Linked DNA regions of Homo sapiens: region 2 is linked to region 1. Evidence: promoter capture Hi-C in 16 types of primary human blood cells and fetal thymus (Javierre and others, 2016). All regions are on one chromosome and are shown on one strand. Each heading gives the region's core, a stretch centred on a gene start or on the middle of the fragment in contact. The rest is flanking DNA. Distances are from core to core; before and after follow the strand shown. Region 1 holds the start of SLC35D4 (solute carrier family 35 member D4). Region 2 has its middle 8.2 kb from the start of NPC1.

Region 1 (5,881 bases), core at 2,079-4,578:
TTGACATTTTAAAATCCCATTCCTACATCACTTCATTGATGCATTCATTCAGTTGATAGATTCCTTCAACATGCCTTTATCAGTGTACCTAGTTTGTGTAAGGCACTGAGCTAAGCATAGGGACGCCTATGTGCTCCAAGAGCTGCCATGTGGCTGAGGAGAGAGGGTATGCATCACCCTGACTCTAATACAGCTTCTTTTTATTGTTTTAATTTTTTTGGGGGAAAGGGTATTGCTCTGTCACCCAGCCTGGAGTGCAGTGGTGTGATCTTGGCTCACTGCAACCTCCGGCTCCCAGGTTCAAGTGATTCTCCTGCCTCAGCCTCCCAAGTAGCTGGGATTGCAGGCGTACCCCACCATGCCCAGCTAATCTTTTGTATTTTTAATAGAGATGGGGTTTCGCCATGTTGGCCAGGCTGGTCTTGAACTCCTGACCTCAGGTGATCTGCCCACCTTGGCCTCCCAAAGTGTTGGGATTACAGGCACACTCCACCATGCCCAGCTAATTTTTTGTATTTTTAGTAGAGATGGGGTTTCACCATGTTGGCCAGACTGGTCTTGAACTCCTGACCTCAGGTGATCCACCCGCCCCAGCCTCCCAAAGTGCCGGGATTATAGGTGTGAGCCACCACACTCAGCCTAATACAGCTTCTTAACTGGTGTGGCTGGGCAAGAGTTACAGGAGTTCCTCCTCAACTTCAGGGAGGCCTGGAAGCATTTCAGACTCTAAGCAGTGTCAGCAATTTGGCCTGGGGCTCTGAACAAATACTATCATTTTCTTCATGAACCACAATATGGAAAAAACGTAAGATGCTAATTATTGTAATACGTATTAAAAAGTAGTACTGGAAAAGAGAGGAGAATAAGTTATGCCTGAAGTGCTTGAGAAGAGCTAGATGTAAGTAGGATTCCCACAGGCAGAAAGTAAAGGGAAGTGGAAAGTAATGATTTAAGAAAATACACACACGCTGTGATTCTGCAATCCTCCTGTTGGGAATCTATTCTACAGAAATTAAACCAGCAGGAGGTAAAGACATATGTACAAAGATGTTTATTATAGCCTTGTTTGTTGTAGCAAAAGACTAGAAACAACATAATTATGTCAACAGCAGAATGGTTGAATACATTACGGTATATCCATACTATGGAATGCCTGCAGCTTTTTTAAAAAATTAAATCTCTATGTGTTGACCTGTAGTTGTAAAAGTAAGTTGTTTAGCAATGTGAATAGCTAGATCCATTTTCGTGAGGCAACAAATTACAAATGGGTATATGTTGATATGTGAATACGGAGGAAGGTGTAGAAGGATACACCAACCTGTTGGTATTGGTTATGTGAGTGGTTAAGAGTGTGGTATTGGTTTGCTAATTTTTCTTTTATAAATCTCTATTAGTCTTGTTACAATGATTTTTTTTTTTTTTTTTTTTTTTTTGAGACGGAGTCTCACTTTGTCTCCCAGGCTGGAGTGCAGTGGCACGATCTTGGCTCACTGCAAGCTCCGCCTCTCAAGTTCACGCCATTCGCCTGCCTCAGCATCCCGAGTACCTGGGACTACAGGCGCTCGCCACCACGGCCGGCTAATTTTTTTGGTATTTTTTTAGTAGACACGGGGTTTCACCATGTTAGCCACGTTGGTCTCGATCTCCTGACCTCGTGATCTGCTTGCCTCGGCCTCCCAAAGTGCTGGGATTACAGGCATGAGCCACCGCGCCTGGCCACAATGATCTTTTTAAATTGTCGTTAAAGATTGGTGTTTTGGAGAGGGAGACACAAACTCTGGGGCAAGAGTGATAGGTGAGAAGCGAGTGTAGGCTTGTGAAGGGGCCTCCTTGTGAAGTGTTAACTTCTTACATGATTTTATTTCTATGGAGAGGAAAATTTAGTGCATTTGAAGCTTCATCTCCTCTCTTCCTGTTCTGTATTTTTGCTTTTTAATAACCCAGTGTACTAGTCTGTTTTCACGCTGCTGATAAAGACTTACCCGAGACTTGGTAATTTATAAAGAAAAAGAGGTTTAATGGACTCACAGTTCCACGGGGCTGGGGAGGCTTCATAATCATGGTGGAAGGCAAAAGGCACGTCTTACATGGTGGCAGGCAAGAGAGAAAAAATGAGAGCCAAGCGAAAGGGGTTTCCCCTTATAAGACCATCAGCTCTGGGGAGACTTATTCACTACCACGAGACGAATATGGGGGAAACTGCCCCCATGATTCAATTATCTGCCACCAGGTCCTTCCCATAACATGTGGGAATTATGAAAGCTACCATTCAAGATGAGATTTGGGGACACAGCCAAACCATATCATCCAGTCTTGGTAGAGAAAGCTATACCCATCTGTACAAGTGGTTTGAAGGAGACTGTGGGAGAAAAGGGAGGGAAGGGGTGACCAGCCTACCTCCATCTCTATGTTGGTCCCCTCTGCAGACCAACCAGCAGGCCCAGGAAGAGACCTGTGGAAAAGTGAGCAGAGGCAAAGGACTGCGATGAGACAGTGGTGGCTGGGGAGTGGCTTCAAGGGGACAAGCCGAGGTCAGCCCTCCCTCAATGCTGGAGGGAGCAGAGAGAAACAAGGCATGCTTCTGAAAAACAGAAAAATTACATAAGGGTTGGTGTGTCGTTTTCCATCCACTGCTCCAGCACCGAGAGCCAGGAGGACTTTTGCTGTGGCTTAAGAGTGATGGTTTCCCCGTGTGTGGGTGTTTCTGAAAATCTGTGTGTTTCTACAGGCAGAGAACACTGGCACTTTTTGCTATTGTCCAAGTCCATCAATAGGTTTTCTTGCATGTTTACTAACATTTGCCGGAAGCCTCATGAGTCCAGTTTTCCACCCTATAGACTAGGAATAGGAATAGGAATAGGGGCTGTGCTTGGGAAAGGGTTCTTATTTTATAGAAATGTCAAGAGAATGGAATGACTTTAAATACAAACAAAACTCAAAAAACCTATACTCAATTCCAGTTCCTTCTTCCTTCACCTTCCCTCTTTTAAGTGAACATTTGTTGCTGTTACCTTTTTTGTGTCATTTGCCAAAGCGCTACAGACTCAGTGGAGAAAATTGGGAAAATTCAGTGAAGCACGGGTAATATTTTGGTCTCATAGTTTAGAGATAGCGATGAACATTTTTCTTTAAACACTGATGGGGTATTGTGAACTGCGGTATGCTTTTTTCCTCTTCTGCCACTTTCTACTCTTTAAAAGAAGATAAAAAAATAAAAAATAAAAAATAAAAGAAGAATGACCGTCCTTCGAGGGCGCGGCCCCTTTAAGAAGGCAGACGCCGGGGGCGGTCCCCGCGCTGATTGGCGGAGCTCGGAGCCACGTGGCCGTCTCTGGGCGGCTGCTGCCGCTGCCGCTGCTGCTGCTGCGGGGGTCGGGCGGCGGCCAGGGGATTTGGGCAGGCACCGTGGATCCCCGAGAAGGGGACGAGTTGACAGATGTGCGTGAGGAGGTCTCTGGTCGGCCTCACCTTTTGTACCTGCTACCTGGCTTCTTACCTCACGAACAAGGTGAGGGGGCGGGCGCGGGAGGCAGCGATTGCACGTGGGAGGTTTGAGTCGGAGAATCTTCCCGTGACAAACGGAGCCTCCTCCTGCTTTTTACCTCATTCTTCCTGGTGGCGATGGAGATGGAGAGCGAACCTCCTCCGTGTGTGGGATGCTCTTTCAGAAATAGGATTTGCCAGCCTGTACTGTCCCCGTTTCCTGCACTGTAAAGCACGGTACATCTCCAGGGAAACAGGATTTTTGGGCTGGCCATTTCCCGGGAACTTGGTTTGGGGCTGTGTGGACTAGTTTTAAGAGAAAGCAAGCAATTGGCTCCTGCTCCCCCGGGGAGGAAGAGTCAGAAGAAATCTGACACATCCTGCCTTTTTTCTAAACACGCCCCTGTCCCAGAGCCCCCGTGAAGTTCCAGAAGCCTTTAAATAGAAGAGATTAAGCCGTCTCCCCCTCACACTGCTGATTCCCGAATCAATTTTTTTGTACGTCTCCATTGTAAGCACTTCAGGAGTTTTTCATGGAATTATTATTTTTTAAAATAAAACATACATTTAGTTTTAGGTTTAAACTAATGTCATGACATCATGAAAACCTTTTGGTGAGGAGGCAGAGAAGCAGTGGTGCCAGCTTTGGGGTTTTGTTTTGCAAGGAGAGGGAAGCTGGCTTTAGGTTTGGTACCACGCAGGGAAAGGTTGGATCCAATAGGACCGAGTGGGCATGGCTGGGGCATTACCTGCTGGCCTGGACTCTGGGCTGGCCCCAGCCAAAGTGGGAATACAGGGTGCAAGACCACCTGGCCCCACTGTGGGGTCTTACTGCGGGCTCCCCACCTGCTCCCCGCTCTTCCTTTCTCCTCTCTTCCTCTCTGGAAAAGAACCATCGACAAACAGCATTTCCTTCTACCTCCTCTCCTACAATGAATGGCTGCCTTTATATATTCAGAGGATGCTCCCCAACCCCCTTTCCTTCTCCAGTTGATTTTTATTTTTATTTTTTTGAGATAGAGTCTCGCTCTGTCACCCAGGCTGGAGTGCAGTGACGTGATCTCGGCTCACTGCAACCTCTGCCTCCTGGGTTCAAGCGATTCTCCTGCCTCAGCCTCGTGAGTAGCTGGGGCTACAGGTGTGCGCCACCACGCTGGGCTAATTTTTGTATTTTTAGTAGAGACGGGGTTTCACCATGTTGTCCAGGCTGGTCTCGAACTCCTGACCTCAGGTGATCCGCATGCCTCAGCCTTCCAAAATGCTGAGATTACAGGTGTGAGCCACTGCGCCTGGCCTCCAGTTGATTTTTAGTTATGGCGATAAGCCTTTGAAGGTCCATAAATGCAGCCTTCCTGGGAGGCAGTGATGGGTTTTACTTCCTGGCTCCACTTACTTGGCGTTTGGAACCTTACTCTTTCTAAACCTAAGTTTCTTAACTTTAAGATGGGACAAAGAGTCCTCTTGAAATTGTTGTTGTGGCCCGGGCGTGGTGGCTCACGCCTGTAATCCCAGCACTTTGGGAGGCCGAGGCGGGTGGATTGTTTGAGGCCAGGAGTTCGAAACCAGCCTGGCCAGCATGGCGAAACCCCGTCTCTACTGAAAATACAAAAATTAGCCAGGCGTGGTGGCAGGCGCCTGTAATTCCAGCTACTCAGGTGGCTGAGGTAGGAGAATCACTTGAACCTGAGAGGCGGAGGTTGTAGTGAGCCGAGATCGCATTCCAGCCTGGGCAACAGAGCAAGACTCAGTTTCAAAAAAAAAAAAAAAAAAAAGAGAAAGTGTTGTTGTGAGAGTTAATGGAAATGGTGTTGGCCAGGCACAGTGGCTCAGGCCTGTAATCCGAGCACTTTGGGAGGCTGAGGTGAGCGGATCGCTTGAAATCAGGAGTTTGAGACCAGCCTGGTAAATATGGTGAAACCCCATCTCTACTAAAAACACAAAAATTAGCCAGGCATGGTGGTGGGCACCTGTAATCCCAGCTACTCAGGAGGCTGAGGCATGAGAATCTCCTGAGCCAGGGAGGCGGAGGTTGCAGTGAGTGGAGATCACGCCACTGCGCCTGCAGCCTGGGCAATAGAGCCAGACTTCGTCTGAACAACAACAAAAGAAATGATGTTTGTAAGGTAGGTGGCCTAGTGCTTGCCATTGTGGCAAACTATAAGATAAACGGTCGTTACTCTGGAAGAAAAGGACAATCTTTTGTTTATACTGTGACAGTAATTAGTAACTTTTAACAGATTTGTTTTCTTCTCATGGGACAAGTAGCTAAACTAAAAGCAGTTTTTTTGGTTTGCTTGTTTGTTTGTTTGTTTGTTTTTTGTAGCACCTATTCAGAAATTTGTGAATTTGTGAAATCTCTGGCTTTTTCAATTTAACTCTTCTAATTTGTCTAGCGAAC
Region 2 (5,881 bases), core at 2,192-4,691, 160 kb before region 1:
TGAAAATACTTGCAGGTAGAGTTAATGATAATTGGTGACAATTAAATATAGAGGATGAAGAAAAGAAAGGAGAGCTAAGAATTGTGCTAAAGTGTGTTAGGCATTCCCAAGATCATCCCCAGGTGTAGTGACTTGCTAGGAAGACATAGGACTCATATATCTAGTTTACTCATAAATATACTCATATACATGGTTACATATACATGTATACTCAAATACATGGTTAAGATTACAGCAAAAAGACACATAGCAAAATCAGCAAAGACAAAAGGAAAATAGAGCAAAGATAGAAGACAGCAGGTGCAAGCTTCTGAGAAACCTCTCCCACAGAATGAGCTTAATTCCTCCAGCAACCGAGTTGTGGCAGCAAGTGTTGTCTACCAAGGAAACTCATTGAAGACTTAGTGCTCAGGGTTTCAACCGGGAGCTGGTCACATAGATCCCTTCTGCCTAGCATTTACCAAAAATCAAGACCTCCAGAAGGAAAACAGGCATTCAGTATAAACCACATTGTTTGCACAAACAGTTAAGGCAAAGTGAATACTTCTTATCATTTAGGGCAAGTTTGATATCAGTGTAGGGAACTGTTTGTCAGCTGAGGGCCAACCTTGTAAGCAGGACTTCCTAAGGATAGGCAGTCTTGGGCTGGCTTTGTTAATTCTTCTTGGCCCACAAAGTTTACAAGGTGGATGAGCCAATAACTTTGTTAGGCAATAGGGAAGAATAGCAGATTTGGGGTGAGGAGATAGAGTTTGGACATGTTCACTTGGAAGGATCTGTGAAATAGATTCTAGAAGGCAGTTGGAAATAACAAATTAATGTTTAGGACAAGGCTGTTGTTACTAGTGTAGGCATCATCTGCATAGAGGTGATGGTCAAAGTCATGGGATGAATGAGGTCCCCACGGAGAATCTGCTGAGAATAAAAGAGATGGCAAAATGGCTGGGCATAGTGGCTACTGTCTGAAGGGAGGCTGAGGCGGGAGGATTACTTGAGCCCAGGAATTGAAGACCAGCCTGGGCAACATAGCAAGGCCCTGCCTCTAAATTTAATACATTTTTTTTTAAACAGATGGCAAACTGAGAATAAACTTTGAAAGAAGGGAACTCAGCAAAGAGAATGAAACAATGAACAAGAGCAGGAAGTGAAACATAATGAGGAAGGAGAAGGTCTCCAGGAGAGGAGAGCAGGCAGCGAACCACGTGAAGAAGTGTGGCCATATGACACAAAGGCTGGGAAACTCGAGGCTGCTTTTGCTCCACCACTCTGTCTTTGATGAGCTTGTTCAGTCATCAAAGAATTCTGGCCTTGTGGCTGGGCGTGGTGGCTCTTGCCTGTAATCCCAGCAGTTTGGGAGGCCGAGGAGGGTGGATCACGAGGTCAGGAGTTCCAAGACCAGCCTGGTCAAGATGTTGAAACCCCATCTCTACTAAAACTACAAAAATTAGCCGGGCACAGGGGCAGGTACCTGTAATCCCAGCTACTCGGGAGGCTGAGGCAGGAGAATCGCTTGAACCCGGGAGGCAGAGGTTGCAGTGGGCCGAGATCGTGCCACTGCACTCCAGCCTGGGCTACAGAGTGAGACTCCATCTAAAAAAAAAAAGAAAAAAAAAAGAATTCTGGCCTTGTAATGGAGATTATGGATAAGGATTGGTGAGTGGACCTGGAGCTAACGTTAAATTAAATAAAATTATTCCCTTGAAATGATTCTACTCCTCACTGGATAGAATTGTATTTGTGAAGATACTCCTGATGCTTTCTAGGAATCACCGGCCAACTATCAGTGTGCATTGCCTCTGCTCTGTACTAAGACTAAGGCAACATGAAAAAAACAGACTTGGTACCACCCTATAGAGATGCAAATAGGCGTGGTGCAATGCAAACAGGCCTGGTCAAATGAGATAATTTATGGTTGCGGATCTATACCTATGCTGGTTGATTGGTTTTAATTGGTGATTTTTTTTTTTTTTGAGACAGGGTCCTGGTCTGTCACCCAAGATGGAGTGTAATGGCACGATCTCAACTCACTGCAACCTCTGCATCCTGGGTTCGAACGATCCTCCTTCCTCAGCCTACCAAGTAGCTGGGACTACAGGCACGCACCACCATGCCTGGCTAACTTTCGTATTTTGGTAAAGCTGGAGTTTCGCCATGTTGCCCAGGCTGGCCTCCAAATCTTGGACTCAAGCGATCTGCCTGCCTTGGCCTCTCAAAGTGCTAGGATTACAGGCATGAGCCACCTTGCCCAGCCAAATTGGTGAACTTCATCTCACTGTGAAAAGATGCTAAAGTGCTTAGAACATGCCTGGCTGTGAACAAAGCCACACCATGTTATGATATTTCATGCCATTGAGCCATAGCAGCTCAGACCCTAGTATTTGTACTTCAAAGCATGGAGAAAAACAAAAACAAAAAATGACAGGCAAAACTAGCATTAGACATTCTAGTCGAGAAATGTGAAAATAATTATTCTTCTGCTTAATGTAATGAACACATGGAGGGTAAACTAGTCACACAGAGGTGTTTTCTCTGGGCCCTCTGACTATACTTAGCCCTCAGTTAAATAACCTATGTATCACTGGGTCTGGAAAGTCTTCGATTCTTTTCCTGGTGACCTAATCCTTATTTTTAGCAATACTTTCAGGTAATTTTAAAATATGAGTGAGGCTAGGCATGGTGGCTCATGCTTCTAATCCCAGCACTTTGGGAGGCTGGGGTGGGAAAAGCACTTGAGCCCAAGAGTTTGAGACTAGCCTGGGCAACAAAGTGAGACTCCGTCTGTACAAAAAATACAAAAAATTAGCCTGGCATGGTGGTGTGTGCCAGAAGTCCCAGCTACTCAGGAGGCTAAGGTAGGAGGATCACTTGAGCCTTGGGAGGTCGAGCTGTGATCTCACTACTGCACTCCAGCCTGGGTAATAGAGCAATTCCCTCTCTCTCAAAAAAAAAATTAATTTATTAATATGAATGAGGTTATGTTTCAACAAAGGAATTCAGCTAGGCACAGTGGCTCACATCTATAATCCCAGCACTTTGGGAGGCCAAGGCGGGCAGATCACTTGAGGCCAGGAGGTCGAGACCAGCCTGGCCAACATGCCGAAACCCTGTCCCTACTAAAACTTAATAAATTAGCCAGGTGTGGTGGTGGGCGCCCATAATCCCAGCTACTCAGGAGGCTGAGGCAGGAAAATCACTTGAACCCAGGAGGCGGAGGTTGCAGTGAGCCAAGATCGCACCACTGAACTCCAGCCTGGGCGACAGAGTGTGACTCCATCTCAAAAAGTAAAAATAAAATAAAGTAAAATAAAAATAACATAAAGGAAGTTAATTAAAGATCTTCAGTTCTTAGGTGACATGTCAGCCTTATCTCTGTCAACAGAAAAAATTCCTTCCGCTATCTTTGGTTCTTCTTCCCTCCCTCACTAGGATTGAATCCTCCGAGCTTTAATGAGTGAAATGCTGTTGTTATTCCTACATTTCAAGTTTTAAGAATAGTCTTAGAAAGTCTTCAGTTTACAGGAGTTGGACTCTCCATTTTAGGAAACATTTGATCAAAAACCACCCCTGGCAAAGGAAACTATGTCCTGTGAGCAAATCCTGCAGGGAAGGCAATGCCAGTTTGAAACCCTGACTGCTAAACCACAAGTCATTCCAACTCTGGTAGCATCCTAACTGAGTGGAAGTTACACCACAACCCATGACTGGATTAATCACCAACTCAAACATCCTTCCTTACTAGGATGAGTAACATTTTACCAGAATTCTGAGCAACAATGCCCATTTCCGAGTAGGTCATAACCATTGGTACTAAAGTCATGAGTTGTAGCTGTAAGCTATTTTAAATGAAGATGTCTATAAAATTTGGCTTGCGTAAGTAAAGAGTTTAAAAAGTCTATCACAGAACCCAAAGTAATTGAGTGTGTATACTGAACACATGACCTGTACAACAGTGCTCACAGCACCTTTATTTGTAACAGCCCAAACTGGAAGAAGAAACAACCCAGATGTCTGCCATGATATGTTTGAGCCATGGAATACTACACAGCAATTCTTTTAAAAGATGCTACCACCACAAGTAATGTGGATGAGCCACACACATAATGTTCAGTGAAAGAAACCAGACGCAGAGGAGTATGATTCCCTTTACATGAAGTTCAAGGACAGGCAAAACCAACTTACAGTGAGAGAAATCAGAAGAGTGGTTGCCTCCCGGTTAAAGGAGGGGTGATGATATCGACTGGGAAAGGGGCATAAAGGAGGCTTCTGAAGTGCTAAAGTTTCCATATCCTTCCTCTGGGTGTTGGCTACATGGATGTTGTGGTTGCCAGCCTCCAAGATGGCCCCAGTGCTCCCCTCCTCTTGTCCTTGTCTGGTCCCCTTCCTACACTGCATCAGGACTGGTCTGTGTGCCCAGTATTACATGGCAGAAGTGATGGCATATAACATTTGAGGCTAACTCATAACAGACATTATGGCTCTGCCTTGCTCTCAATCCCTTTTGGATCACTCCTTCTGGAGGAAGCCAGCTGCCAAGTCCTGAGGACACTCAGCAGCCTATGGAGAGGAGGAACTGAGGCCTCCTTCCCACAGCATCTTTTTTTTTTTTTTTTTTGAGACAGAGTCTTGCTCAGTCACCCAGGCAGGAGTGCAGTGGCATGATCTCAGCTCACTGGAACCTCGGCCTCCTGGGTTCAAGCAATTCACCTGCCTCAGCCTCCCGAGTAGTTGAGATTACAGACATGTGCAACCATGCCCGGCTAATTTTTGTATTTTTAGTGGAGACAGGGTTTCACCATGTTGGCCAGGCTGGTCTCGAACTCCTGACCTCAAGTGATCCGCCCACCTTGGCCTCCCAAAGTGCTGGGATTACAGGTGTGAGCCACCGAGCCCAGCTTCCCACAGCATCTTCAACAGCAGATCCTCCAGCCCCAGTCAAGCCTTCAGATGATGGTAGCCTGGGCCAACTTCTTGGCCATAACCTCAGGAGAGACCCTGAGCCAGAACCACCTAGAACCACCCAAATCCCTGACTGGCAGAAACTGGGATAAAATAAATGTTTGTTCATTTAATATACTAAGTTTTGGAGTAATTTGTTATTCAGTAATAGACAACTAATAAAAGTGTTTAACACATAAAAGAAACTTGGCTGGGCGCAGTGGCTCATGCCTGTAATCCCAGATCTTTGGGAGGCCAAGGCAGGTGGATCACTTGAGTCCAGGAGTTTGAGACCACCCTGGGCAACATGGCGAAACCCCGTCTTTACTAAAAATACACAAATTAGCCAGGCATGGTGGAGTGTGCCTATGATCCCAGCTACTTGGGATGCTGAAGCACAAGAATCACTTGAACCCAGGAGGCAGAGTTTACAGTGAGCCAAGATCACACCACTGCACTCTAGCCTGGGTGACACAGTGAGACTCAGTCTCAAAAAAAAAAAGTAGAAAACTCATCAAGCTGTACAGCTAAGTTCTGTATACCTCATATATGAATATTATATCTTAATTAAAAGGAAAAGTCTATTAACAAAAAGAGTTCTCAAAAATGCTCAACCTGAACCTCCTTAGGGGGTTGGCAGAAGCATTAACTAAAGCTCTCCTATATTTCACCAAAATGTGTTGGCAATTCGTAGCCTGCTGGAGGAAGGGAGGTGTGAGCTGTTCCCTGTGTTCAGCTGGACAGCCTCCCACTCTCTATAGGCGCTTCTTTTAGAGCCAGCTCCACTGCTGGTCCTGGAGGTTTTTTGGGGAAGGCGATCAAAAAATTTACAATGTCCATGACTACTATAGGGAATAGTTCTACGATGCTGGCTGCGAAAACCAGATCAACTTATTAGGCACAGTAGACACAGTGATAATTTTACTGTCCCATGAAAATGTTTTAA

Evidence for each region. Contacts are between HindIII fragments. The CHiCAGO score rates a contact against its expected background, and 5 or more counts as called.
Region 2: a contact is called between a fragment that was not itself captured here and the fragment with the promoter of SLC35D4 in region 1, in 1 of 17 cell types (neutrophils). The highest score is 5.9, in neutrophils.

The regions. Positions count from the first base shown.
Region 1 is chr18:23,435,408-23,441,288 of GRCh38, reverse strand. SLC35D4 (solute carrier family 35 member D4) reads left to right here and starts at 3,328. Exons shown (of 15, transcript NM_032933.6): 1 at 3,328-3,508. The coding sequence starts at 3,437. RefSeq lists a silencer at 3,200-3,299. The HindIII fragment of the contact is 5,255 bases long and covers 1,898-5,881 here.
Region 2 is chr18:23,591,770-23,597,650 of GRCh38, reverse strand. No RefSeq gene overlaps it. Among named protein-coding and RNA genes, the nearest start is that of NPC1, 8.2 kb to the right of the region's middle. The HindIII fragment of the contact is 6,264 bases long and covers 310-5,881 here.